Regions from separate parts of the Homo sapiens genome. Here regions 1, 3, 4, 5, 6 and 7 are each linked to region 2. Evidence: promoter capture Hi-C in 16 types of primary human blood cells and fetal thymus (Javierre and others, 2016). All regions are on one chromosome and are shown on one strand. The core of a region is centred on a gene start or on the middle of the fragment in contact, and the rest is flanking DNA. Distances in the headings are between cores, read along the strand shown.

Region 1 (4,200 bases), core at 1,107-3,606, 3.3 Mb after region 2:
TGAGTATCTTCAGGGAAAGCACATGTACTTATGTTATGCTAAATTCACATTAACAATCAGAATGCCAATGTGCAAAACCAAAACCATTCCACTGATAGGTTTTACTCTATCAAGCACATTTTATCAAAAATATACTTTAATATTTCAATACTAACATTAAAGTGTGAATTCTATTATTGAAGAGGAATAGGACGATTTCCACCCCACTCAAAACTGTCTTATAAGCTTATTATAATTCAGAGTATTATGAAGAACACAAAAAAATTAGTATTTTGCGCTGGGCGCGGTGGCTCACACCTGTAATCTCAGCACTTTGGGAGGCCAAGGTGGGCAGATCATGAGGTCAGGAGTTCGAGACCAGCCTGGCCAACATGGTGAAACCCTGCCTCTACTAAAAAAATACAAAAATTAGCTGGACATGGTGGCATGCACCTGTAATCCAGCTACTTGGGAGGTTGAGGCAGGAAAACCACTTGAACCTGGGAGGTGGAGGTTGCAGTGAGCCGAGGTCGAGGCACTGCACTCCAACCTGGGCAACAGAGCCAGACTCCATCTCAAAAAAAAAAAAAAAAAAAATTTAGTATTTTGTTTATACATTATTCTTAAACCCACAAGACATCACAGAAAATGACTTTATAAGGAGATAATATGTCAATATCCTTTTAAACTTAAATAGGTAGTAGTATTATTACAACTTAGCAACATCAAAATGTTACAAAATAATGCCTCAAAGGCCAGGCACGGTGGTTCACGCCTGTTAATCCCAGCACTTTGGGAGGCCAAGGCAGGTGGATCACCTGAGGTCGGGAGTTCGAGACCAGCCTGACCAACACGGAGAAACCCCATCTCTACTAAAAATACAAAATTAGCCGGGTGTGGTGGCGCATGCCTGTAATCCCAGCTACTCGGGAGGCTGGGACTGGAGAATCACTTGAACCGGGAGGCGGAGGTTGCGGTGAGCCGAGGTCATGTCATTGCACTCCAACCTGGGCAACAAGAGCGAGACTCCGTCTCAAAAATAAATAAGTACATAAATAAAAATAATGCCTCAAAAAAAGTCCTAAGTGTTCAAATCATGAAGTAACATTTAGGTTTAGATGAACACATTTTTTTTTTTTTGCACAAAAAAACAAAAAAAGCACACAAAAAAACTGACCTAGATATGTAGCATTAATGCATTTTCTACTTACCAGAATTTTACAAACTCTGATGTTATCAACATTGAAATGGCCGGAATCAGGAAAAATAGATACTGTTAAGAAAATGAGACATATCAAAAGATTATTTTGGGACAACAGAGAAAGTATCTAGTCATGTTAAAGGTATTTTTATTTTGGATCTTTTCATTTACTGATATTTACTTACCGCATGCCTGAGCAATAAGCTTGGCCAGAAATACTTCATTACCATATTGTTTACTCATTATGGAGGTACGAAGTAGAGATGAGACTTCATCAATATCTCGAAGGTTTTTTGCAGAACAACATACCAAATTAGGAAGAATCTCATGAGCTTTTCTGCAGGCTATTTCATAACCTTCTATGACCTAAAACATAAACAACATTTCCTATTCTGACATGACTTAAAGTAGCTTATTTTGGTAACCCAATGCATATGGATGTTTATTTTTGATACAAAATGACAAAGAATATACTTCGGAATAAAACATATAGTAGACTCTACTAGTTATGAATGGAGGCTTAGATGACAGCCCAAATTTGAATCTTAACTCTACCTAACTCACTAGCTATGAGATCTTGGGCAAGATTTTTCTAATTTTAGTCTCTTTTCTCATCTAAAATAAAGTGGGAAAAAAAATAGATAAAATGGGATTATAAGGCCTCACTAATAGGGTTTTTGTGAGACTAAAATGATACAGCATGTGAAGCATATGTACTATAATGGCTGGTACAGAGCAAACTGCTCAGTGCATGTTAGCTACTACTATAATAATGATTTTAGTTTATGTTTTAAGCAGGTGTATATGTAAGCAAAAATTTAGTAGGAGTAAATTATAAATGAACACTTGCCTCTGAAACTGACAGGCCAATCCTCAGAAGTTCTTCAGCTAATTCCAGGAGAGCTCCAGCAAATACCAGAACAAAGTTTGTGCCATCTCCAACTTCTTGCTCTTGCATATGAGAAGCCATTACAATCATTTTTGCAGCAGGATGCTGTACCTAGTAGAAAAGGTAATATCAAGTTAAACATCTGATCCTTAAAGCAACATAAAATTGTTCATTTCCATTTCTTAAATAGACTCAATTTTCTTGTAGATTAGGTAACTCCATCTGATCACACTGCTACACTGCTATACGCTACTTATAGTGTGGTCACAAGAAAAAATCCAAGTCCCTTTATGCCGATCAGCACAAATGTATCACTATAAATAAGAATTTCAAAGTGCATCCTCTTTTGGTGGCCTGCACATACAGTGCCACACATATGTTTCACCATATCATATTTCACTAAATTAAAAAACAAAGTAATTACAACCACCAAACCTAGATATTTTTTAAAAGCCTTCAGGAGAACTAAAATAGATACCACTTAACTTGGTCATGACTCTCAATATCTATTTTACTATATATTCTTGTTGTAAGGGTTATCATTTGTGATTTAAAGAAAAGGGGGAGTATAAAACTTTTCTTCAAATATAACATAATTTTATGTGGATTTTATTCTTAGGATTTAATTTTAGATACCTTTACAGAAACAAGCCAAGGAGTAAGAACTGAGAGCAACAAGAAAACTATAAAAAGTCAGCCCTGTGATTTTATTATTTTGACGGTATCACCACTGTACTTTAATAACTCCTGAGATCATCAGTGTGCAACATTAACATTCACAGTGACAAACCCTTGTACAAGTGTTTTGTGGAGTTAAAATTTAACTTTTAACTTAAGTTCTTTAAGAATTTATATATATAATATGTATTTTTTTTTCTTTTTTGAGATGGAGTCTTGCTCTGTCGCCCAGGCTGGAGTGCAGTGGCGCGATCTTGGCTCATTGCAACCTCCGCCTCCCAGGTTCAAGCAATTCTCCTGCCCTAGCCTACTGAGTAGCTGGAACTACAGGTGTGTGCCACCACGCCCGGCTGATTTTGTTTCTGTATTTTTAGTAGAGATGGGGTTTCACCATGTTGGCCAGGCTAGTCTCAAACTCCTGACCTTAGGTGATCCGCCTGCCTTGACCTCCCAAAGTGGTGGGATTACAGGCGTGAGCCACCGCGTCCAACCAAAAATATATTATTTAAGAGGTTAGAAAAATGTTGATTCTTCTATCGTTTCATTTAAAACAAAAGATTAAGTTCTAGTGCTTTCAAGGGCTAAGCTTCAGGAAAATTCCCTGAGGTTGAATATGTTATCCTTTAATTACAAGGCGGGAATGAGGAATGGCTCTCTCTGCCTGTTCAGGTGCCAGACCTTCCTTATAACCCTGCTGGCAGGCAGTATCTATTTTATAGATTCTAATAGTAAAACTAAAGCTGAACAAAGTAAAATGCCATCAACTGATTGTTTTTATTTTCACAAAACCAAATGGTTGGATCTTTTTAAAAACCACTGTTATATGTATACGTTTTTGCACTGTGGAATAATTCACTTCAGAGTCACCCTATAGAATGAAGACAATGGTAATCAATTTCATATCGTAATTAGCAATGTATCACAACCAATCCCTCCATAAATTAATAACTTGAGAGATTTTTAAGATTTCAGTGGCTAAAACATTCAATCTAAAGAGGACTCTTTATAATTAGAACAATCTGTACAATAAATTTTCAAGCTGGAAAAATAGTCCCTTATCCAATCTGAAATAAGAGATTTCTTCTAGTTAAAATCTACTTAATTTTGATGTCACCAAAATATTTCTTGACTTTTTAAAGAAACAACTTACTTCTAGTTCTCTTAAAATAGTTGCTGCATCGTTTGTCACAAACAACTTCTCCAAGTGGTTGATAACCATTTTGTTCATTCCTCAAAAGTAACAGTTAAAAAAAGAAAAAGAAAGCCATTATTAATCAAATCCTTCCCCAAATACCCAGGAAAATCTAGTTAAGAAATTATAAATTTGTATATTAAAAAAAGAGCTTTGCAAGAAAACACATACTATCTATTCTTCAAGTTTATCTTATAGCCCCATGGGCATTCTCTGACTGCAGACCCATATTCTTTCTTCCCTTTCTAATGTCCTACAATA
Region 2 (3,895 bases), core at 353-2,852:
AATACAAAAAATTAGCCAGGCGTGGTGGCGGGCACCTGTAGTCCCAGCTACTCCGGAGGCTGAGGCAGAAGGGCGTAAACCTGGAAAGTGGAGCTTGGAGTGAGCAGAGATCGTGCCACTGCAATCCAGCCTGGGCGACAGAGCGAGACTCTGTCTCAAAAAAAAAGTATCTGGTCAAAGTTACACAGCAAAATCTAACTTAACACATATATGCAAAAAAAAAAATTGTGCAATTCAATGCCACTTTCCCTTCTGGCAAACTAAGGACATGCTTAACATTCAGCAATAGGTTCACCCGACATTTGCTTAGCCCTAGATACTGTGCAAAGTACTTCCATATATATCCTTTCCTTGTACCCTTACAGCAATACTCTCAAAGAGTTAAAGTGTTCTTATCCCTGCTTTACAGATGATAAAACTGTATCTAAGAAAGATTAAGCTGCACGTATTCTCACAGTTAATTTGCTCTAAGTCTGACTGCATAGATGTTACTCCTTCTGCAACACGGGTAAAATCCACTTTCATTGTTTCAATTATCCACCATGTAAGTGCCTATGATTCCCCAATCGCATTTCTAATTTTAGTATTCATCCTGAGCCCCAAATCTATCCACAGCATTCAACAGTTCTCATCTCCCTTATAAGTCCTACGAACTCATCCAAAAAACGAACACATAATCCCATATCAAAACTTGTTCCTTCTCCTTTAATCCCTTTCATTTTTTTTCACTGATTAGTGAATGCATATTGTCCACTAAAACGCAGAAGATAGTCATTACACAAATAGCTGTGAAATACCACCTGACATAAATTCTCTATTCCAGTACCATCGGGTGCCACGAGAGCATATGATAGCGTCTGACATGATCAGAAAGACTGGGGAAGGCAACAGTAAGAAAACACTAGTCTGAGCAGAGGCCTTGTTCTGGGTGGGAGCATGGTTCTATTTATAGTGATGACTGACCGGCCAAAGGTTAGTAGGTTCGCTGCCTCTTCAGTGCATATTCCTATGAACAATCCATAAAGTCGCCTAATGAAGTGTTAGCACCATCGTTTTTAGGTGGGATGCAAACTTTCAATATTATGACTAATTTTTTCCCTCTTAATGGTACACGTTCTGCCTAAGTAGCCTAGACGCTCCCGTGCGCCCGGGGCGGGTAGGCCTGGCCGAAAATCTCTCCCGCGCGCCTGACCTTGGGTTGCCCCAGCCAGGCTGCGGGCCCGAGACCCCCGGGCCTCCCTGCCCCCCGCGCCGCCCCGATTTGCCCTCAGAGAGGGTATCGATCTTATTTCTGGGTCTACGGCAAACTCCAAGGTCTACAAACGTAGAGGTCAGCTGTGACCCCGGGCCAGGCCGTGAAGGTCCCCAGGACACAGAGCTGCTCTCTCCTCCTAGTAAAGGTGAGAGGCAGCCCAGGCCTCGTGAAAAAACCCAGAACTGGAGTCCCAAAAGGCCACGCTGATCTAGCTACCCTCCCAGTCACCTTGCACTCAGTCCCGAGCTGCCAAAGCCTCCGCCGCCACCACCTCCGCTCTACTTCCGGCCCTGGCTCCGCCCCCACACGCCTACCCGCCATCGCAATGCATTATGGGCCGCCGTTTCAGTCGGTCGACGCTCACCGGACAGGAAGCGTCTCGGAGACAGTCTGCGACCGGACGGGTCTAGGTGAGACAGAAGCCAAACAGGAGGAGGAAGTGGAGGGTAAGTGCTTCCGGGTCCCCTGGCACAGCCTCCGCCATCTTTTCTTCGCCTAATTTGACCCGTTCTTTTTCCCCTCCTTGAAACCTTGCTCTGTACGCATGCGCTCTTTGAGTGGCCTTTCCCCTAGTTCAAGCTCCCCTCCGAGTCAGCGTCCTGTTCGTTAGGGTTATCGAAGTGTATAAAGGTGCAGGGAAAGTGAGACTGTGTAAAACAAAGCGGATTGGGGCGTTGTGCTTCCTTGTACCTCGTGAGCCTCCGTTGCCTTGGGCGGTCGTTTTGCGCACCCTGCCGGGAGTTGTAGTCCTGGACCCGAAGGTGCCTGGGAGGCGGGAGGGGGGTTGGGGCTTCTCAGCGCCGATTCCGCGGGAAGGGCCCTGGGACCTCACACTTCTAGTCGCGGGAGCTGCAGGTCTTACCCGGAGAGACGCTGCACGTGGAGCCCTCGCCGCTGCCGTTCTCAGCCGGCTCTGGAGTGCGGGCGGGGGCGACAGGGCCGATTCCGGAGTGGGTGAGTGCGGCCGCCGGGGAGGAGGGGAGCGCGGGCCCTCGCGGGCCGGCCTCGTTCCGGGGCCTTTTCCCCCACAAGGGCCCCCCCGCGGCCGCCTCTGTGTTTTGTTTCCGCTGGTCCCCGGCGCTGTGACTCCCATTTCCGTTCGTGGAGACTTGAGGGAGCCGGGTGGGGAGGGGCGGGAGAGCTGTGCGGGGAGCGAAGGGGAGGGGCGGGGGGCGAGCGGCCTGGAGCCCGGGGGGACCGGGCACCGCCGGGACCCGTGCCGGACGGGTCGCCTGTCGCCGCTCCCTCCTTTCCGCGTCCCCTCCTCGCCCGTCCGCACTCCTCAGCAGTCTCAGCCTGCTCAGCTGGGATGTGGTCCTGACGCCCCCGAGATTTTAAGAGCAAAATGCAGACCCTGTCTCATCGCGGGACTCAGCGATTCACTCATTTCAAATCCGCTCTCTTTATAGAACAACACACACCAGAATCATTTATCAGCGTATATGGTAGCCATCTGGGTTTGTTTTTTTGTTTTTAAGCAAGGAAGTAAACCAAGGAGATAACAATGGGTTGTCTACTTGGAAATTTTTTTGTGTACTAGAAGACACGCTGTATGTGCGTGTTTGGATTTAGGGACCCCAGTTTGATCAGGTTAGCGGACCGAGAGGACAATGCCTAATATTGCATTGCAAGATGATTAGAAATTTAGAAATAAAATTCATTTCATAAGTAGTTTCCACTAATAGCAGTAGGTCTGACTCGTGAGAAGAGCAAAGATTTAGCAGGATTCACTTGAGCGAATTGTAGAACGAGGCGGTGATAACATTCTTCGGTAGTGTTATCTTGAACTTCAGAAGAAACCGCTCAACTCTTTAGCAACTGCTTGAGGGACTAGCCTGTCTCTCAGGGTTCCATCCAGGCTTTCCAAGCTTCTTTATTTTTAGACATACAGTGACGCTGAGTGGACTTCAAGTCAATTTTACCTGAATTGTGTATACAAGAGCATCTGTCATGAGGCATGTATAGTAATGAAGTAATTAAATCATGAGCTAGATGTTAGGTTGAAGCAAATCATCAGACCGAGTACTAAATTAAAACTGTTGACTTTAGCCTTCCCTCAACTCTTTATATATAAAACTCCAAACCTACAGAAGAATTGGGGAAAAAATCATGCAGTGAACACGCAGATACCCTTCACCTGAGGGTCCCAACTGTTAATCTTTCACTGTATGTGCTTTCTCTTTTTATATTACATAGATATGTATGCTTTGCTTTTTCTTAACTGCTACCTTTATTTTTGAAAATAAAAATGTCTTTTAATTTCCTCAGACACAGAAAAGCATTTGATAACTTAGGAAAATGTGCAGTTAATCTCGCAGGTACCCCCACACTCCACTTATAATATATTGGGAACAAAATGTTCTAAGCTCTGTAATAATGCTCTCCAATGAAGGACAATTCTCAAATTTATCTGTAGTTTCAAAAGGGAATGTTACACCTATCTGTATTTTAAAAGACACTAGCCGTTCCCAGAATTTTTCGTTAAATTCAAGTTTAGTTTGTATCCCATCTTGTGAAACATTCCGAACCCCAGGTTGGATTTAATCCAGCAGAACCAGAGTGTCAAAGTATATGAAATTGTTCTGTGCAGTTCTGGCGGGGGCAGCCCTTAGACGGAGAAACTGCAAGTAATTTTCTCTC
Region 3 (4,061 bases), core at 981-3,480, 3.6 Mb after region 2:
CTGACAGATTTCTATTTATGAAGAAGTAGTAAATGGGCCACACCTGTGTGACTTTCTTCCTCAGGGAATCAAAGGAAGTCATTCCTTACGTTTCAATTCAATTCAATTCCTATCATTGAATTCTATCTGTGTGACTGAAACTAATTCTTGAAAAAATGTTTCGTTCCAGTCCTCCTCTTTCTTTTTTAATGCCTTTCAGCTGTTCCCAATACTATCTGATGGAAACACTGAAGTTACACTGATGGCTGTTCAGCATCAGTGGCCAAGAGCACAGATATTGGCATCAATCAGAGCTGGATCTGCATCTTGGCACAACTACTGCATAATCACAGCATTCCTTGAGCTCTTGCTACCTGGCCAGGCAAGGTGTGATGGGCTTTTATATGAACGATTTCAATGAGTATTCACAACAATCCTACCTAATAGCATAGTTGGCGTTATTATTATGAGTTATCACATGGAGGTCTGCAACAGCAGTCAGTGTGTCTGAGTTGAATCCTGGCATTACCCCTTACTATCTTTGCATTATTGAGGAAGTCCTTTAACCTCTTCAAGCTTTGGATTCTTCATTTGTAAAGTGGTAATAACATCTTCCTCAATGTGCTGTGAAGACTCTAAAAGAAAAAATATATAAAGTGCTTAGCACAGTGATTGGTGCACATGAGTGCTCAATAAAAGGTGACTAGATGCATTATTTTTCTGTGAAACATTGAGAATAAAAGGGATGTTGCCTTGTAGCTTTCAAACAAAGACTTTTTGGAAACTTGATAAAGAGGCCATGAGAATGCACCTCCCAGACCTTCTACCACAGGGCATAGTAGAAGGCCATTTGTAATTGGCCTATGGCACCAGCTACTAAGTTTTGAAATGCATGGGTACCTTTGCTTGAGGCTTGAGGCTATACTTCCCATGGGCTGCTCCTTGCCAGTGATGCAGTGTAGTGGGGATACAAAGGCAGACTCATTCATAGAGCCATGGGACTCCTACCAGTGTCCACTTAGGCTCAAGGACTTTCTGCTAACTTTGTTGAACCTTCGTTAGACTGCACTGTATTTCTACGATGCTTCCATGCAATCTTCTCTCCTCTCTTCTTTGCTTGAGATTAGGCTTGCAATGGAGTCTTATTGCTCTACCTGCTGTTTCCTTTCACACAGGCATTCCTTCTAATCAATTCCTTGCATGTTTAATCCTGTTCCAGGTGTTGGCTTGTTAGAGGATCTGAACTAACACACTTGCGTTCTTGTTCAGTGTACCCTGGCAATCATGCTGATTGGAACTTGCAAAGGGTTTTTCCTGGCCCCTATCTCAGGAAAATGATGTTCACCACTATTTTCCTTAGAAGTCTCTCTTCATTCCTCCAATGGTTCCTTGACCTCATTCATTTGATTTCCCACCATATTTTAACAGTGAGAGTCACCTCCCATCACCCTTCTTTGATTTTCCTTCCAGCCACCTATATTTAGTAATTCATTCTTCATCTGCTCCTTTTTTTCTCTCTCTTCCTTGCAACTTTGAATTGTAGGATGTTTAGTGAGACATCCTATATCCTTCATATATCTTTGCACTTCCTCAACTTTTAATTGCAGTCAACTTTGCAAATTTGCATAGAGATTTTCTTTATATAATTAAGTTACATATAATGGAATTTTTACCGTTTTTGTGATTCTTTCTTATAACTCTATGTTCTACATAACCCTGCATTTAAATACTCATTCAGTTTAGTATTGGACAAATTACTTCTCTGATTCTCAAACTCCTCGCTGTGAAACAGGGATGAGCATACATGCCCCTTCTGGTTGTTGTGAAGATTAAATGAACACACATCAATGGAACCTAGCTCTGTGCCCAATGTTTGGCAAAAGTTAGTTCATTCTCCTACCTAGGTAACTCAAAATCTAAGACAGTTCTTGGTTGTATTAAGAAGAAATAAAATACTGCTTAAACTGAAAACATTCAAAGATAGAAAGCAGGCTCATAGAAGTTAGCACAGCTAAGGGCAAGATTTGAATTCAGATTTCCTGATCCCAGAGTGTGCCTTAATTACTAATCATTTATTATAAAAGAAGACAAAAAGTACTTCACTTCTATCTTGTCAGTGTGTTAGTCTGTTTGGGCTGCTATAACAAAATACTATAAACTGGGAGGCTTACAAAACAGAATTTTATTTTTCACAGTTCTGGAGGCTGGGAAGTCTGAGATCCAGAAACGGGCAGATTCTGTGTCTAGAGAGGACCCACTTCCTGGTTCATGGATGGTGCCTTCTTGCCGTGTTCTCACATAGTAGAAGAAGCTAGTCAGCTCTCTGGGGTCTCTTTTATAAGTATACTAAGTGCATTAATCACTTCCTAAAAGTGCCATTTTCTAAAACCATCACCTTGGGGTTAGGATTTTCACATATGGATCTTGAGGGAACACAAACATTCAGATCATAGCAGGTGGGTTCCCCAGAAGCAGACCCTGAGACAAGGATTCATGTGCAAGTGATTTGTTATTTATTATTTTCCTCCCAAGGGAAATCAGTAAGGAAATGAAGGAAGAATAGGGAAGGAGAGGAAGCCAAACAAGGTGCAATATTGGACAAAAGTCCTGCGGAAGATAGGTGTGGCCTGATCCCATAGGGGAACTTAGAGAATAACGTGAGGCAGAGGAGCTTGGCTTTCATACTCCTCTGCCCAGCAGCTAAGCACCATCCAGAGAGAGGTAAAGTTGCAGGCATTTCTGAATCAACATGTGCAGGGGATGGGGGTGGGAAGCAGCTTCACTGACTGAGGGAAGTCTTCTAAAGAAGGGCTGGCCATCGGGAGCAAGAGCAGAGAGGTGCACAAAAATGGTAAAAGGGGTCTGAAGGGTCTCGGTGGATCACCAACACTGTGTACTTCAACTCCAGCCTGCTCCCTGGGAGGCTGTTTTCACAGTTTTGTTTTCACTTAGAAGATGCTTATTTCAAAGAGCGTGCACGCAGCTGCATCTTCAACCTTTTTCCATTGACTGGATTTTTAAATACACACACACACACTCACACACACACACACACACCCCTCTATTCCAAAGGCCATCATCAAACCGGTTTATAACTGAAATTTAAATTAGGGTAATATCTCTTGGATAGTTTCACATTAAGGAATGATTAGTATTCCTCTTGCATAACTTCAAAGCTAAAAAATCCTCAGTGCCACCATTTTCATATTTCTTGATGCTATCTAGTCCCTTCTCAGAATCAGCAAATTAGGCTTGGGCAGGACCTGATCTCTGCTTCACCCTTGCTTTTATCTAAAATATTCTTGGCTTCTATAATAATGAAGCTAATACTTATACAATTATGCCTATGTGCTGGTCTAAATGCTCTTTGTATGTTAACTCATTTAATATTTGCAACAACTCTGTTGTAATAAGTACCAGCATAATCCCTGTTTATGGGTGAAGAAACAGGCACAAATGGGTAAGTAGTAGAAGTGGGTTTCAAACACTCTGGCTCTAACTAAAGTCCATGTTTGTAATCATTATGCTGAAATGCCTCTCCACGAGGGATGAAAGTCCCTCCAAAAGCAGCCTACATTGATTTCTGTTCCATCTACTTTCTCATCAATGACTTCCTGTTAGCCTGAATTGAACTAATAAGTACTCAAGACTAGTAAATACTTAGTTCCTGAACTTGGTGATTCAGATAGCAGGAAGCCCAATGTAGCTTCCTTCCAGTTTCTATTCTAGGCCATCTGTGGCTTGCTTCATATTCTCTCCCAGCAGGACTCCACAGAGGCCAGGATTTTGACACTTTTGACTATTATAAATAAAACTGATCAAAATACCTCCTACAAATCATATGACATAATAGGGAATTAATAGACCTTTTATTAAATGATTACAAATCATACTTAAAAAGGATATAACTGCACACTGTATGATATAAAGCTTTAAAACATGCACATAAATTGATATAAGAAGGCACTTATGAAGTCCATACAGTCAAATTTATTTACCTGTATTTATTTACAGGATCTTCAGGGAATGTTTCAGGTGGAGGAAGGGGCTCTTGGTCAATGAGCCTGAAGACTGCATGGCAA
Region 4 (4,201 bases), core at 313-2,812, 3.6 Mb after region 2:
GCAGACTTGTGCAATTTTAATATTTTCATTTTATCTTGAGATCCTTATTAAGCTTAACTGAATTTTTATTATAGGAAGTGTTAAGCCAGGTAATTTACAGAAGATCACATGGTTGATGATATCAGTAGAGCGTTAATCTGATTATCCACAGCTGCTGGTAGCCTTAAAATAACCTAAAACTTGATTTCCTGTTGTCCCTAATAATTCTGTGTGTTTAACACTTCATATTTTTCAGAGGGCTTCGTGAGACAGATAGGGTGGGAGCTACCTACTTAGGCTATCTATTCAGTTTCACACATGCACATTTGCCCTTGTTCACATGGCTAGACTTGACTTGATGGGTCTTTCCTCCTCATTTTCCTATAGCAGGGTTCTCTCATTTTTTTTAAACACCAAGTCTTCTTTTTATTTTAGATTTCTATAAAATTTAATTTATTCTTTAGTAATTTATTGTGAAGAATCTGCTAAGTTTTAGAGCCCATCAACTTATCATGTAGTGACAAACCAATTATCTGCTGATGACTGTAGGAAATATCTACTCTAAAGGGGGAAAATGTAATTGGCAATCTTTGGGAGATTTCACGACAATCAAAATAATTGTGAACTATCTTTTTAACCAAGGCACATTTTTTGTTTGTTTATAGTTATTTATTCCAACATTTTTCTGATTATAAAGTAGTATGTATTTATGGTTAAGAATTTGAATGCAGAAACAAAAATTACCTAGATCTTACCATGCTAATATTTTAATTATATATCCTAACAAGGCATGGTGATGGTGATGAGGGTGGCAACCAAGATTTCTGGACATACTGAATTGGTGATGCCTATTAGACATACAGGTAGTAATTTGAGTATGCAGTTGGCTATATGAGTATGAAATTCAAGAGAGAAGTCAAGATTGGACCAAATACGAATATGAGAGTGTTCAGCAAGTCAGTGAAGTGATCGTGTCTCCATTGTGGGTCCAGATGTGTTCACCTAGGGAGTGTGTGCAAAGAAGAAACCAGAGGATTGTGGTATCCTGGAAGCCAAGTGAAGACAAGGTTTCAGGAAAGGAATGATCAACTTGTTAACTATTGCTGAGATGCTGTGTAAGAAGACTGAACATTTGCCATTTGGTGATGTGGAAGCTGTTGAGCTTCACTAAATGGTTTCCACGGAGTGGAGGGGAAAAGGCTTGTTTGAGTGGCCTCAAATGAAATTGGGAAGAGAGGGAAGAGACAGTGTGAGTATAAATGGTTCCTTTTGGAAATTCAGTACAGGAGAGCAAAGAATTATAGATCGAGGGGTATAAGGAGGGTCAATAAATTTTAAGAGAGGATCCATTATTCATCAGTTCCATTAAAGGCAAATGCAAAATTTTATTATGTGCGTGGTTTTCTGGTGGAAGTTCAATAGATTTCATCAGATTCTGTAAGGCAGAGAACCAGTGCTCTAGTGATTTGGCAGTTCAACAGCTCATTTTTCTGGAGGATACCCTTAAAATTTTAACTGATTTAAATTAATATTCACCAGTATTAAATAGTATGTGTAACATCGTACCCAAACAAGATGTCTTTCTGTATTTTTTTCTTTCCTTCTCTTAGTTTTGTTAAAATCTTTTTAGTTCAGAATATTCTCTATCAAATGCCTTTTCTATTTGAAGACTCTCCTAAAAAGTTATATTAATACTTGCAACCAAGTGATCAACCATTTACATTTAACTAAATTTTGCTACTTTTGTTTACTATCTATTTAAACATTTTAAGTTTGTGTTTTTAGTCAAAGTAATACTTGTTGGTTTTTGTTTGTTTGTTTTTTTAAGTACAGAGAACAACCTTATCTGCTGCACCTCACCCCCTAATTCTGCTTCAGAGTTATGTGCAATGTTTACTGGTTTCTGCTATTTAATTTTTTTGGTGGATACCTCTGTCTAAAATGTTTACACCTCAGTTTATTTATCAACCTAAGATATTATCTGTTGACTTGGTATTACTGTGGGTGATGATTTCGTTTACTCTACTATCCCCCCACATGTATTTGTAATCTTATTATTCCACTTCTACTGTTGATCACCTCTGCAACTCCAGCTCTAAACACTTTTTTTCTATTTCTTTTTCTTGTCTCATTAATCTGAGGCAGTGCCTTTTGACTCTGCACATTGTAAGTTGTATGGAAATACCATTCCCATTCTTCCTGATTCTGTCTCCCAGCCTGCTTTATTTTGTCAAGGTTAATAATATTTACATTCTATGCTATAGTTATAATTAAGTCTCTCATTATTTGTCTATTCTAAAAGTTGAAAAAAGTCACAGAGATGTAAAGTGACATGCTTAACTGACAGTGGAGTCCTCAAGTTATAAAGTGCTATTAATCTTTTGTGCTGTCCACCCATAGGTATCCCTAGAGCAGCGCTAGCTGCTGTTTGGCAGTTTCTGGAGAAGTCTTTATGTCCTTACTTGTGCTCCCTGATAACAACTCTGTCCTCATCTTCAGCCCCTGATTGTGGGATTTTAGGGGTATCTGAGATGTAAGCATTTAGAAAGTGGTGTAGACAAACCGTGGAAGAGGCTGAGTTGGGAAATTTTACGTGTTGGGGGAATTTTCATTCTTTGCTTTTTTCCCCTCCCCTCTTTCTTGTGGGAGCCTTAACTGGGATAGTAACAATTGCACCCGCCTCTCTGCCCATTAGTTGCTCATCTTAGAAAATCTACAGTTAACATATTTAGTGGCGAAATACTTAACACTTTCCTTATATGGGAATGAGATGAGGATACCCACTGTCACCACTCTCACTATTCGGTCATTGCAATAAGGGAAGAAAAAGAAATAAGCATAAAGACGGGAAAGAAGTAAAATGGTCTCTGTTTGCAGATGACATGATTGTGTGCATAGAAAATCCTATGGAATCCACAAACAGCTATCCGAACTAGTAAGCAAATTAAGGTTGCAGAATTCACGGTTGATATTTAAAACGATAATTTTGTTTTTACACAATAGCAACAAAACAAAACAAAAGAGAAAATGAAGTTTAAAAAAACCAACTCTGTATGCAGTAACTATAAACATTAAATGCTGAGGAATATAGCAAAAGCTTCACAAGCCCTCTACTAAAAAGATCATAATAATGCTGAGATAAAGAATGCCTAAGTAAATGAAGAGAGATGCCATATTCATATACTGGAGGACTCAGTTTTTTAGATGTTGGTTCTCCCCAAATAGATCTATATTTTCATTGCATTCCTAATCAGAATTCAACTAGCTCTTACAGTAGAATTTAATAAGAATTAAAAAGCCCAGAAGAATTAGACATTTCACAAAAGAAGGTATACAAATGGCTAATAAGCACATGTAAGGAGGCTCAACATCCATTACTTATCAAGAAATGCAAAGTAAAACCACAGTGAGATACCACCATACATATCAGGATAGGCAGGATTAAAAAGATGACAGTACCAAGGGTTAATGAGAATGTAGAGCACGGCTGTCCAACCTTTTGGCTTCCTTGGGCTGCATTGGAAGAATTGTCTTGGGCCACAAATAAAATACACTAACACTAACGATAGCTGACAAGCTAGGAAAAAAAAAAGGTCCATGCATGATTTTCATGCTATCTGCCACCGCCGATGAAACAAAACAGTCCTCACGTTCAAAGGGATGGACACGTCTTACGTAGAGCATTCTAATTAATTGCCATACATTGGAATTGTCATACACTGCTGGTAGCAAGATAAAATGATACAGTCACTTTGGAAAACTATTCAGTAATTTCTAAAAAGTTAGGCATGTGCCTATAATATGACCCAGCTCTTCTACTCCTAGGTGTTTACCCAAGAAAAGTGATACACGAAATATATGTCCATGCAAATGTTCATCAAAGCTTTATTACAATAATCCCAAATTCAGAACAATGCAAGGGTACATCTTTATTATAGTAGTCCATCAGAGTCAAATGGATAAACAAATTGTGGCATATCCATGTAATGGAGTGTTATTTTGTAATACAAAGGAACATCTGATGTATGCAACAACATGAATGAACCTCAGAAACATTAAGAAGTAATGTTTCTGAGTAATGAAAGAAACCCGAAGTAAGAGTACATAATATGTGATTCTATTTGTATAAAAAGAAAATGCACATTAATCCATAGTGACATAAAGCAAATTATTGGTTACCTGGAATCAGGCACAGGGAAGGGTACATGTCAATGCCCTTGGA
Region 5 (4,153 bases), core at 160-2,659, 3.4 Mb after region 2:
ATATATATCTCTGTTTTACTAATTCTGAAATAATCATTTAATATTATAATATATAATATATATAATTGTATATAACATATGTATACACACATGTATATGTATATATTTTATGACATATATGTAATATAATTATATATAATATTATATGTATATATACATGTATAATATGTATATATTTTTTTTTCCAAAATTGCTAGTTTATGAATTCACAGATGGTTTGGGGTTGATTAAAGGGATTAGCAATTTCACTTTAGAATAATTTTGTTTTTTACTTAGAAGGAAGAATTTATAATTTGTGGCTTAAACTGGAAACACTACCACATCATAAGTAGCACAACACTAAAGCATAAAAAGCAATCTTGAGACCTTCTTACATTACTATATATAGATTCTATTAAAAACAATAATGGGAACTAGAGGGTCATTGTAGAATATTTTTTCTTAAGGTCTACACACTAATTGATTCATGTAAGATGGTCCCTGATTTCTTTTAGGTACTTAGCCCATGAGCCAGTACTTATTTTTGTAGTTGGATTAGTAACGATGCTTGATGGTTCAAATGCTTATCAGCCATCATCATTCTCACTTGCCCTGTTCTTAATGTTTTGGCTATTTTTATTACAATGATTTCCTCTGGGATTTTCATTAGGGTCAGTCATTAGCCTCAGGGGAATAAAATCAAGGGAGGATCTATGTGTCTATTTATGTAGCAGTCTGCTAGAGCAATTACATTTTCTCATTGCTATTTGATTAGACTATTTTCTTTCTTACCAGATATTCACTCCTCTGACTCTATGCCAAATGCACCATCGAGGTGAAAGTTAAATCACATCAGGAATCTCAATGAAGAAGGAGGGTAATGGTTACCAAAAATCCTTCCAAAAGATCTTTTCATTCCCTGACATCATCACACAGTGATTTTTGATAACTTAGGCAAATATAGTCTAAACGCAATTAGAAATTAACTTTCTGAGATGAGTAAGAAAGTTTATTTAGGAAATGCAAGTGAGAAACAAGAAGTAGAAGAGAATATGTTTGGGAAATGTAATAATGCACAGTGACTTATCTCAAGATGATTCTCAGACTTTGCCAAAAATTCACAAAGGAAAAAAAAAGTCAGCAAGGAAAATGCCTGTCTCTAAGCCCATATTTTCTCTCATTTGAGGTGTGGAATAACCCTTAAGCCCTTACCGGGGTCCTTCTGGACTGAGAATTGTTGTAAAGTAATACTGCTCAGGTTCGTAAGTTTTATAATCTTCTCACACAGAGCAAATGAGAATGGGGTGGGAATGTGCAAGCCAAGAGCAGTCAAACCTGCCAGTAGTAGCAAAAGTGACAGCTAGACCAACAAGGGCTTGACATGCTTCAAGGAGACTTGCTCACCAGAACTTGAGAAACATAATTGAGGCTTTTAGGTGAAACCATTGCATTGCACGTAGCCGTGTATTATGCTTAAAGTGATCATTGGCTATGAATAAACAAAATAAAGATCCCTGCACCTTATTTAAGTGGTCATTGGACATAAAAAGTGCATTTAGGCTGAGGCAGGAGAATGGAGTGAACCCGGGAGGCGGAGCTTGCAGTGAGCTGAGATCGTGCCACTGCACTCCAGCCTGGGTGACAGAGCCAGACTCTGTCTAAAAAAAAAAAAAAAAAAAAAAAAAAGCATTTAAATTCTATCAAAAATGATTCAAAGTTTACTAATATCTTTTGGTTCTTGTTGGGGTGAGCTTTGCTTGTCTGCAAAATTCATTTATGTAGAAAACCTCGTTCTCCCCAATATTGTATGTGAATGAAATGTTACTGTATTTAACATTAATTGAATGCCAACGGCATGGTTAGTATGTTGTTTGAAGGAATGTTGCGATGGCTTTGATGCAGAATCATAACTCTCTATATCCCCCAGGTGAAAGACAACTTGAGTGGTTAAATTACTGTCATGCAAAGCGACTAGATGGTTCAGCTGATTGCACCTTTAGAAGTTATGTGGAACGAGGCAGCAGATCTTAAGGTATGTCCGCCTTCCCCCAACCCCTTCCTGTAAAACTGTCGACTATAATCCTGTTTTCAGTGAAAACAGGGTGGGAAAAATGTAGGAAAGAAGCAGAGAGAAATGGACCTTGGAAGTCTCAGCTAACCATTACTGTTGGCAATCTGTGGGAGGTCGGCAGACTATTTGTTAAGGTGCTGATTGAAACTCTGGGACACCGGTTCTTTCCCTTAATACAAAACCAATTTTGAGCCAAGTCATTTAAGACCTTTTGAAAACTGATTCTAAAATAGCATGTGATATCCTGCGGAAAAAATAAACCATGATTTAGTAAACTAAATGATCCGTGGAGTAAGGACTGCTTTATATGGTGTTCTTAGAGAAAGAGCAGGCACAGATGATAAAATGTGGCCAGGAAAAATCATTGGCACATCTATGTGAGTTCCAGCTTGAAATGAACTTCTCGAGGTTCATGGCCCCGTAAGTGTTTGCTGCCCACCAGCTCTGGAAAATGAGTGGAAGGATTCCCACCCAGCTTGGAAAACAGAAAGTCCGCTTACCTGATGATGCTCTGGGGGAAATTAAGGAATGTTGGTGTCATTTCATAGTGACCACAGCATTGAGTATTGCTCCTTCAGATTCATTTTGCTCTAGGCTGATCAACATTTCACTTCCGTGATGAGCAGTGCTGGCCTAAGATTTTACTTAAGTTTCATTGATAATAAAGCTGATGGTGAGAATGATAATGATGGCAAGAAATATAGTAAAGCCTGCCCCACAGTAACGAGAATCTGGCCAGGTGGTGATTGGCAATAGACTCCTATCCTCTGCTAAGGCCCTGTTCTTTCTTCATTAATCTTGCAATAACTTGACCCTGAGTTTTAAAGTAATAAATATTTTGGACTTCACATATTGTATGTTAGGGTTTTATCATATATCAACAATGATTATGATGACGTCCCCCTTTCCTGAGTATTCACTCTGCACATTGTGCTGAGTGCTTTATGCGTGTTATCTCAGTCTTCACGACCATCCTGATGAAAGTCCTCCAATGGCTTTGAACTGTACTTAAAATAAAAACCAAACTCTAAACCAGTTCCTCTAAGGAGTGGCATGATCTAGCTCCTGCCTACTTCATGTCCTGCGTCTTTTCCACTTGCTCTGCCCCAGCCACACTACCTTCTTTTTGTTCTTGTGACATGCCACACTCATTCTCTCTGCTGGACTTTTTCACCAGCTTTTCCTTCTGCCTGGACCTCTCTTCTCCCAGACCTTAGTGTGGTTGATGCCTCCTTCAGGTCCCAGATTAAATCTCGTCTCCCCAGAGAGGGTTTCCTTGACAACTCTGTCTTCAGGAACTTCCTCAATATTCCTTTTACATCACCCTATTTTATTTTTATCCTAAAAGCTAATACTCCCTAAACATTTTCACATTAATTAATTTTAAAAACTCTCTATCTCTGCCAATTTGGATGTAATCTTCCTGAGAATTTGGACCAAATATGTTTTTTAATTATGTTCCCAGTTCTCAGAACAGTGCTTGGCACATGTTAAGTGTTCAATAAATGAATGAACCTCAGTTTTTGGATGAAGAAGCTAAAGAACAGAGAGGTTAAGCTATGTCTTAGGTCGTATATCTCCTAAATGGTTTATGCAGGATTTAACTGTAAATCTAATGCTCATTTTCTTTTTCTTTTTTTTTTTTTTTTTTTTTTGAGACAGAGTCTTGTTCTGTCTCCCAGGCTGAAGTGCAGCGGCGCGATCTCCGCTCACTGCAAGCTCCGCCTCCGGGGTTCAAACGATTCTCTTGCCTCAGCCTCCTGAGTAGCTGGGACCACAGGCTCCCACCACCACGACCGGCTAATTTTTTGTATTTTTAGTAGAGACGGGGTTTCACTGAGTTAGCCAGGATGGTCTCGATCTCCTGACCTCGTGATCCGCCCACCTCGGCCTCCCAAAGTGCTGGGATTACAGGTGTGAGCCACCGCGCCCGGTCGTGCTCATTTTCTTAATGATCATGCTATACAACACTATGAGATTTCTGTACATCACACCTGGAATCACATAAAGATTATAGCTTAAAACTACACTTAGCTTCCCAAAGAGGAAATTACGATTGTATTTTAATCTACTCACTAAGTGAGTAAGAGCTTCTTCGTTGAA
Region 6 (3,923 bases), core at 1,292-3,791, 3.3 Mb after region 2:
AAATGTTAGCATCCCTTAAGGTTTGGTTGAGGACATCTTTATCTTCTCTATTGTCTCATGGTACCAAGTATTACTGAATATTAAATGTTCACAATTCTCAAATTCTTAGGATGTTCCAAATTCTCGAGCCCCATATTTGTAAATTTAACTATATCTGTATATTTCTATTGGATGTTATATTAGTTCATTTTCTGTTACGATAACAGACTACCTGAGACTGGGTAGTTTACGATGAAGAGAAATTTATTTGGCTTATTGTTCTGGAAGCAGGGAAATCCAAGAGAATGGTGCCTGCATTTTGCAAGGGCATTCTTACTGAGTCATCCCATGGCGGAAGGCAGAGGGCAAGAGAGAATGAGAGCAAGTGCAAGAGAGATGAAGGGGCCAAATGCATGCTTTTATCAGGAACCCACTCCCACAATAACTAACCCACTCCTGCAGTAACACCATTAATCCATTTGTGAGGGCCCTGTTCTTTGGGAACTTTTTCAACCCTGCCTTCTTTCTCTTCTTCTGAAATGCTGATGACAGGAATGTTACATTTTTTGTTATATCCCTGCATATCACTTAATCACCTCTGAAAGGTCCCACCACTCAACTCTATTGCTTTGGGATAAAGCTTCTAACACATGAACTTTGGGGCACACATTAAACCACAGCAGAGACCATCTCAGTCTTAACAGTCCTAAAATAGGTCTAAATGGCCTGGCGCAGTGGCTCACGCCTGTAATCCCAGCACTTTGGGAGGCCAAGGCAGGCAGATCATGAGGTCAGGAGATCAAGACCATCCTGGCTAACATGGTGAAACCCCATCTCTACTAAAAATACAAAAAATTAGCCGGGCGTGGTGGCGGGCACCTGTAGTCCCAGCTACTCAGGAGGCTGAGGCAGGAGAATGGCGTGAACCCAGGAGGCAGAGCTTTCAGTGAGCCGAGATACAGCCACTGCACTCCAGCCTGGGCGGCAGAGCGAGACTCCTTCTAAAAATAAAAAAATAAAAATAAATAAAGTAAAATAAAATAGGTCTAAATTATATTTCTTTAATAATAATTCTTTTATTATTTCTTTTCTGTTTAGAGAACCTATTTTAACCATTCTTTTAGGATAGGTCTGCTGGTGACAAATCTCCTAGATTTCCTTCATCTTAGAATGTCTTGATTTCCCCTTCATTTCTGCAGAATATTTTCACTGGATGCAGTATTCTGGCTTAACAGGTTTTTACTTTCAACAATTGAAAAATGCTGTGCCTCTTCACCTAGCCTCTCTGGTGACTGATGAGAAATCACTCTCATTTGAATTGTTTTCCTTTACAGATAAGGTTCATTTTTGTCACTAATTTTAAGAATTTTTCATTGTCTTTGGTTTTCAGAAGTTTGATTATGATGCGTTTTTTTTTTTTTTTTTTTTTTTGAGATGGGAGTCTCACTTTGTCACCCAGGCTGGAGTACAATGGTGCAATCTTGGCTTATTGCAACCTCCACCTCCCAGGTTCAAGCAATTCTCCTGCCTCAGCCTCCTGCGTAGCTGGGATTACAGGCGCACACCACTACGCCCAGCTAATTTTTGTATTTTTAGTAGAGATGGGGTTTCACCATGTTGGGCAGGCTGGTCTCGAAATCCTGACCTTGTGATCCACCCGCGTTGGCCTCCCAAAGTGCTGTGATTACAGGTGTGAGCCGCCACACCTAGTCTTTTTTTTTTTTTTTTTTGAGATGGAGTTTTGCTCTTGTTGCCCAGGCTGGAGTGCAATGGCACAATCTTGGCTCACCACAACCTCCGCCTCCTGGGTTCAAGTGATTCTCTTGCCTCAGCCTCCCGAATAGCTGGGATTACAGGTGTTCGCCACCACGCCCAGCTAATTTTTTGTATTTTTAGTAGAGAAAGGGTTTTATCATGTTGGCCAGGCTGGTCTCAAACTCCTGACCTCAGGTGATCTACCTACCCTGGCCTTCCAAAGTGCTGGGATTACAGGCGTGAGCCACCATGCCCAGCCCCATATGGTTTAGGTATTTATCCTAGACAAAAGCAATCCTAATTAGGCGAGAGACTATATGGGCACAATTCTTATTTGTGACTTCTCAGAGTCTTAAACTGTGAATTTCCAAGAGGGGTGTTCAGTATTCTGTCTGACTCCAGAACATGTTTTTCCAGGCCAAATGACATTAGCCCTCCTCTCCACAGAACAGAGCAGGATTCCTTATTTTGCCATGTAGTTACCTGAATTTAAGTAGTTTAAATATAAGCATTTAAAGTATCATAAAAGATGGTGGGTAGCCTTGATAATATTTATACATATATTAACATATATTTATTAATATGTCTATTCATGTTTAATTTGAAGTTTTCCTCTTCTAATAACTGTTGGAACTGCAAATATTCCTCCCTCCTTTAATCGCAATGTTTTCTTTTGTTTTTTTTCCGATTTTTTATTTATTTATTTTTTTGAGACGGAGTTTCGCTCTTGTTGCCCAGGCTGGAGTGAAATGGTGCAATCTCGGCTCACTGCAATCTCCACCTCCCAGGTTCAAGCGATTCTCCTGCCTCAGCCTCCCAAGTAGCTAGGATTACAGGCATGCGCCACCACACCCAGCTAATTTTTTGTATTTAGTAGAGATGGAGTTACACCATGTCAGTTGGGCTAGTCTCAAACTCCCGACCTCAGGTGATTCACCCGCCTTGGCCTCCCAGAGTGCTGGGATTACAGGCATGAGCCACTGCTCCCGGCCTTTTTTTTTTTAAACAAAATCCTCATACATACTTAAAATCCCTGGACTTATTGGAATTCCATATACATATTTGCTGGTCTGTTTTGGAGTTGAGAAACATAAAAAACAACTACTTGGGTGGTTATTAGAGGAAATGGTTTACTTTGTTTTTTTGTTGGCGTGGCTCTGTTACCAGTGTTTTTGGATTCTATTACCAGATTGCCAAGGTGCGACTCCTGGCTCTGCCACTTACCAACTGCAGGACCTTAGGCAAGTGGCTTAATTTATCTGTGCTTTAGTCTCCCCAACTCCATAACTGGGATGAGAGGGTTGCTGTGATGATTAGATGAGAATTTGTGGAAAGTGCCTGGCAACAGTAAATTTTATATGCGTGCTTGCTACTATTATTATTAATTAAAAAAACCTTTTTTTTTGAGACAGGGTCTAGCTCTGTCACCCAGGCCAGAGTGCAGAGTCGGCTCACTACAACCTCTGCTTTCTGGGTTTTTTAGTAGAGACGGGGTTTCACCACGTTGGCCAGGCTGGTCTCGAACTCCTGCCGTCATGATCCACCCGCCCTGGGCTCCCAAAGTGCTGGGATTACAGGCATGAGCCACCGTGTCCGGCTGCTTATTACTATTATTATTATTGGTCATCATTTCAACAAATGTTTCTCAAGCACTTACGTTCAAGCACTGGCACTAAGATAACAATGAATGAAAGTAATAAAACAACTCTACTGGTGGGAGGATACCATGACATCAAAAACAAATTTATACGCCCAGCCCAGGTGCGGTGGTGGCTCACGCCTGTAATCCCAGCACTTTGGGAGGATGAGGTGGGCGGATCACCTAAGGTCAGGAGTTTGAGACCAGCCTGGCCAACATGATGAAACCCCATCTCTACTAAAAATACAAAAATTAGCCAGGTGTGGTCGCCCACGCCTGTAGTCCCAGCTACTAGGGAGGCTGAGGCAGGAGAATCGCTTGAACTGGGGAGGCGGAGGTTGCAGTGAGCTAAGATCATACCTCTGCACTCCAGCCAGAGCAACAGAGCAAGACTGTCTCAAAAAAAAACAAAAAAGAATTTTTGTACCCAGTGAATAACTGCTATGAAGAAACCTGAAAAAGAAAACAAGGATAAGGGAAACAATGAGGCAGCAGGGGTGAGACTGCACACAGCATTGTCAGGAAAGGCCTTTCTCCTAAGGTGACTGTA
Region 7 (4,377 bases), core at 368-2,867, 3.3 Mb after region 2:
GGCTATGAATTTGCATGAAAATAAATGTCAGTCTGGTATGTTATAGATGCTGCATTGTAACATCATTAAAACAGATTTTTACGTCTTAAAAATCATTTTCACAGTAGTCTTCACTGAATGACATCTTTTTTTTTTTTTTGAGACGGAATCTTTCTGTCGCCCAGGCTGGAGTGCAGTGGTGTGATCTCGGCTCACCACAACCTCCGCCTCCCAGGTTCAAGCAATTCTCCTGCCTCAGCCTCCCGAGTAGCTGAGATTACAGGGATGCACCACCACGCCCGGCTAATTTTTGTATTTTTAGTAGAGACGGGGTTTCACCATGTTGGTCAGGCTGGTCTCAAACTCCTGACCTCGTGATCCCCTTGTGATCCGCATGCCTCAGCCTCCCAAAGTGCTGGGATTACAGGCATGAGCCACCGTGCCTGGCTTGAATGGCATCTTTCAATTGTAAAAGTTGTTACTTTTGTCTGGCTAACACGTTGAAACCCCATCTCTACTAAAAATACAAAAAAAAAGTAGCTGGGCATGGTGGTGGGTGCCTGTAGTCCCAGCTACTCGGGAGGCTGAGGTAGGAGAATGGCATGAACCAGGGAGCTGGAGGTTGCAGTGAGCCGAGATCCTGCCACTGCACGCAGCCTGGGCAACAGAGCGAGACTCCGTCTCAAAAAAAACCAAAAAACAAAACAAACAAAAAAAAGTTGTTATTTTTGTTAGTGTTATTCTGTATTTTAAAATATATGTAAACAATCTTTTGACTTCAATGTTATAACCAGTAAAGTAAAACGTTTGGAGTATTTCATCATACTACTTATATGCAGCCATAATTCTGGCTAATTTTATTAATAATAAACCAGAGTTAATATGCATAGTCTTCTTCAGGAAAACAGAATTTTTACGTTCGGTTTCTTTAATAGAATAAGTTGGCAGTTACACACTTTGATTCCAGGAATTATTATTTGTCTCCCCCTTTTTAGTTGTCATTTTGTCATTTTTCATCTCTGATTTTTGGGTCACAGGTGTTACGTATGTGATAATGAGGTCCAGTATTGTAGTTCAAACCAGTTGGGTCAAGTGGTTGATTATGTCAGAAAACAAGCCAGCATTACAACTCCAAAGCCAGGTAAAATAATTTGTTTCTTTAATATACACCAAATGTCGATTTGTGTATCTGCTGATACTTAGATTTGTTATACTACCTAGCATTACATACAGCTGAGTAACATTAGTTATGGTTGATTGCAAACTATGAAACTATTTTTGGTTTAACTATAAGGTATTAGAAGGGATATGAGAAATGATCTAGTCAGATGTGATGAAGGCCATAGACTAAGGTAATGGCCATTAATGCTAAGACTAAGGTAATTCCCATAACCCTAGCCAGGCTTACTATAGACCTGCCTTACACTGTTCTTACTGTCGTACATTTTGTAATAGCAAGATTTCAGTCTGTCTGCTGGGATAACATAAAGCATTTGTGATTCCTTCTAATGGTCAGATATTTCTTAGGTTCTTTCCATGCATAATTAAATTAATTGGCTGACATACAGCATTTGCTTTAAGCATGTTTTTTAAGTTTTTATTGTCACAAGTATCTTTGTCAGAGCCAGAATTATTTGTTTTTTACTTTAGGATTGATTTTTGACCCACAGAATTCATTAAAAAATTTATTTCATGTCCATGTTCTTGATTGTTTTATATTCTTAATTTCACAAGGTAAGATGTGTTCATTTGTAAAGAATTTTCGTGCAGTAAAAAAGGGAGATTTATACCAAAGCACATACTGTTTGGTTTCATTTATCAAACTAATGCTTACTTTAGGTCTGAGTATTTTTTGTTTACTGGGTTTTGTGTTTTTTTTCTGGATGGCAATTTACCTGTATCTATTTAAAATCAAATGGGTGGGTGGGTTGGAAAGAATGACTTCAGGTAAACTCACAAACTCTAGTACTGTTTCCCAAGTATACTTCTGCATTCGATATGACTGTATTACACATTTTGCTAAATCTTTTCTTTTTTTAAAGCAGAGAAAGATAATGGAAATATTGAACTTGAAAATAAAAAATTAGAAAAAGAGAGTAAGAATGAACAAGAGAGAGAAAAGAAGGAAAACATGGCTAAAGAGAATCCTCCCATGAATTCTCCTTGCCAAATAACCGTGAAAGGACTCAGTAATTTGGGAAACACATGTTTCTTCAATGCAGTTATGCAGGTACATTGTCATTTTTTTCCCTTTAAAAAAGCTGTCCTTTTCCTCATAGAATCTGCTACTTACATTATTGAGTTTTTTCCACCTGAGTAATTTATTTCTATGTATCCAAAGAAAACTTTTTTTTTTTTTTTTTTTTTTTTTGAGACAGGGTCTCACTCTGTCACTCGGCTGGAGTGCAGTGGCACGATCGTGGCTCACTGCAGCCTCTACCTCTTGGGCTCAAGCAGTCCTCCTACCTTAGCCTCCAGAGTAGCTGGGACTACAGGCATGCGCCACCACTCCCAGCTAGTTTTTGTATCTTTTGTAGAGACAGGGTTTCGCCATGTTGCCTAGGCTAGTCTTGAACTCCTGGGCTTAAGCCGTCCACCCCCTTTGGCCACCCAAAGTGTTTGGATTACAGGCGTGAGCCACCATGCCTGGCCAAAGAAAACTTAAGGAAAGTTTTATTGCATGACAGTAAGAGAGTTTGGTGAGCACTCGGGTGCAGTGGGTTTGAAAGAAATATTGCTGCTTCTTTCATGGAGCTTGCACTTGGGTGGAGGAAACACAGGATAACCTCATATAGAAGCAAATACGTACCTACAGGTAGTGGTAAGTGGTTGTGAGAGAGTCATGGTGGAGGATTGGGGATAGCTACTTCTGATTGGGTGGTGGGAGAATGCCCCACTGAGGTGATGAATAAGCTCAGAACTGAAGTAGTTATGACCCAAATAGAGTAGGGAGAGAAGCATCTGTAACTTTTCATTTTCCAAGTATAGAGTTTTCAGTGTTGGTCATGATTTTCTGTTTTGATAGAATAGACACTTAAGAAGTGTCAGAGTTGATTTGCCTTTAAATAATTTTTCTCTTTTTTTTTCACCCTACATTCTAGAACTTGTCACAAACACCAGTGCTTAGAGAACTACTAAAAGAAGTGAAAATGTCTGGAACAATTGTAAAAATTGAACCACCTGATTTGGCATTAACAGTATGTTCTTTAAACTTTTCTAGTCTGTAACTTTCCTCTCTGAATGTGTGTTTTCTAAATTATTTTAAATAACTGACACTCATTTCCACTGTTTTTGTTTGTTTTGTTTTACTTTAGGCTACTAACTTAAACAGTTTCAGGCTAATAGAAGTTATAAGGAGGCATTACATCTGTTTGCTGTGTGTGTGCTCTGTTTTTCTATGCTCGAGTGTTAAGCTTCCTTCTTGGGAATGTGTATATGTTTGAGAAGCCTTAGGCTTACATTATTATTTTTAACATCTTTAAGGTGACTTAAGAGCTGTGTAACCAAATAAATATTACCTTATCCATTTTTATTATTTACATTTTGCTTTGGCTCTTTCAATTCTTAGGTAGTAAGTGTTCCAGATAATCTAAAACTAAAATAGTAGAGCTGAATTCTGCATAAGACAGTCTGTGACCAAACAGTTTCTATCTCTTTTGATGTACATTTTAAACTTTTAAATGGGGCAGTTCTGTCAGGAACATTGGTAGTATATGTTAACTAATTAGATTTTAGTAAAGTCAGTGATTCCAGAATTTGACTGAAGAAAGTAATTTCTTTTCCCATATTCAGGAACCATTAGAAATAAACCTTGAGCCTCCAGGCCCTCTTACTTTAGCCATGAGCCAGTTTCTTAATGAGATGCAAGAGACCAAAAAGGGGGTTGTGACACCGAAAGAACTCTTTTCTCAGGTCTGTAAAAAGTGAGTATCCACTTCGATTGTGCTTTCAGTGCCTCAGTGAGATGCTGAGAAATAATATTAATATTAAATAGTAAAATATAAAAATATTAATAGCATTACATTTAGTCAACCCTCTATATACAAAAGGCATAGTTTTTTTTCATTTGGATTTTAAAATATATTTTATGTGATAGTTAAATCTCCCAAGGGTGTTAATGGACTAAACGGAAATTTGTAGAAACCAGAACTCTCTGAGATTTGGGATATGATCCTAAGATTTTCTAAAAATAGCTTCAGAGCTTAGTAGACTGAAGATTGCTTTTCTGTCTTTTTGTTTTTCTCTAGAGCAGTGCGGTTTAAAGGCTATCAGCAGCAAGACAGCCAGGAGCTGCTTCGCTACTTATTGGATGGGATGAGAGCAGAAGAACACCAAGTTAGCATGTTATGACCATTGTATTTTATGATCTTATCTTCATAAGCTTTCTGTCTCATTTGA

Evidence for each region. The method cuts DNA at HindIII sites, captures the fragments that hold promoters and counts their contacts. A CHiCAGO score of 5 or more calls a contact.
Region 1: a fragment that was not itself captured here is called in contact with the fragment with the promoter of GABPA in region 2 in 7 of 17 cell types (total CD4 T cells, non-activated CD4 T cells, naive CD8 T cells and 4 more); the score reaches 18.9 in total CD4 T cells.
Region 3: a contact is called between a fragment that was not itself captured here and the fragment with the promoter of GABPA in region 2, in 2 of 17 cell types (non-activated CD4 T cells and naive CD8 T cells). The highest score is 9.4, in non-activated CD4 T cells.
Region 4: a fragment that was not itself captured here is called in contact with the fragment with the promoter of GABPA in region 2 in 3 of 17 cell types (non-activated CD4 T cells, naive CD8 T cells and total CD4 T cells); the score reaches 6.1 in non-activated CD4 T cells.
Region 5: a fragment that was not itself captured here is called in contact with the fragment with the promoter of GABPA in region 2 in 5 of 17 cell types (total CD4 T cells, naive CD8 T cells, non-activated CD4 T cells and 2 more); the score reaches 12.4 in total CD4 T cells.
Region 6: a contact is called between a fragment that was not itself captured here and the fragment with the promoter of GABPA in region 2, in 8 of 17 cell types (naive CD8 T cells, fetal thymus, non-activated CD4 T cells and 5 more). The highest score is 15.1, in naive CD8 T cells.
Region 7: a fragment that was not itself captured here is called in contact with the fragment with the promoter of GABPA in region 2 in 11 of 17 cell types (total CD8 T cells, non-activated CD4 T cells, M2 macrophages and 8 more); the score reaches 15.5 in total CD8 T cells.

Annotation. Positions count from the first base shown.
Region 1 is chr21:29,065,526-29,069,725 of GRCh38, forward strand. CCT8 (chaperonin containing TCP1 subunit 8) reads right to left here. Exons shown (of 15, transcript NM_006585.4): 3 at 3,898-3,977; 4 at 2,031-2,180; 5 at 1,366-1,546; 6 at 1,191-1,252. Among named protein-coding and RNA genes, the nearest start is that of CCT8, 6.0 kb to the right of the region's middle. The HindIII fragment of the contact is 1,949 bases long and covers 1,383-3,331 here.
Region 2 is chr21:25,733,370-25,737,264 of GRCh38, forward strand. GABPA (GA binding protein transcription factor subunit alpha) reads left to right here and starts at 1,603. Exons shown (of 10, transcript NM_002040.4): 1 at 1,603-2,209. ATP5PF (ATP synthase peripheral stalk subunit F6) reads right to left here and starts at 1,535. Exons shown (of 4, transcript NM_001003703.2): 1 at 1,484-1,535. RefSeq lists enhancers at 957-1,036, 1,355-2,010, 1,437-1,546, 1,567-1,686 and silencers at 1,147-1,246, 2,187-2,326, 2,387-2,596. The HindIII fragment of the contact is 6,464 bases long and covers 1-3,121 here.
Region 3 is chr21:29,283,991-29,288,051 of GRCh38, forward strand. It overlaps LINC00189 (long intergenic non-protein coding RNA 189), which reads left to right. Exons shown (of 2, transcript NR_027072.2): 2 at 3,994-4,061. It overlaps LOC124905007 (a long non-coding RNA gene), which reads right to left. Exons shown (of 2, transcript XR_007067841.1): 1 at 3,978-4,061; 2 at 1-614. Among named protein-coding and RNA genes, the nearest start is that of BACH1, 13 kb to the right of the region's middle. The HindIII fragment of the contact is 3,354 bases long and covers 554-3,907 here.
Region 4 is chr21:29,309,636-29,313,836 of GRCh38, forward strand. All of the region lies in intron 1 of BACH1 (BTB domain and CNC homolog 1), which reads left to right. Among named protein-coding and RNA genes, the nearest start is that of BACH1, 13 kb to the left of the region's middle. The HindIII fragment of the contact is 3,024 bases long and covers 51-3,074 here.
Region 5 is chr21:29,083,907-29,088,059 of GRCh38, forward strand. It overlaps a transcript of MAP3K7CL not described here. Among named protein-coding and RNA genes, the nearest start is that of CCT8, 12 kb to the left of the region's middle. The HindIII fragment of the contact is 5,814 bases long and covers 1-4,153 here.
Region 6 is chr21:29,013,838-29,017,760 of GRCh38, forward strand. All of the region lies in intron 1 of RWDD2B (RWD domain containing 2B), which reads right to left. It overlaps LOC124905005 (a long non-coding RNA gene), which reads left to right and starts at 3,749. Exons shown (of 2, transcript XR_007067836.1): 1 at 3,749-3,923. The HindIII fragment of the contact is 3,849 bases long and covers 618-3,923 here.
Region 7 is chr21:29,035,255-29,039,631 of GRCh38, forward strand. It overlaps USP16 (ubiquitin specific peptidase 16), which reads left to right. Exons shown (of 18, transcript NM_006447.3): 5 at 1,017-1,120; 6 at 2,022-2,209; 7 at 3,081-3,176; 8 at 3,772-3,902; 9 at 4,227-4,314. Among named protein-coding and RNA genes, the nearest start is that of USP16, 13 kb to the left of the region's middle. The HindIII fragment of the contact is 3,546 bases long and covers 1-3,390 here.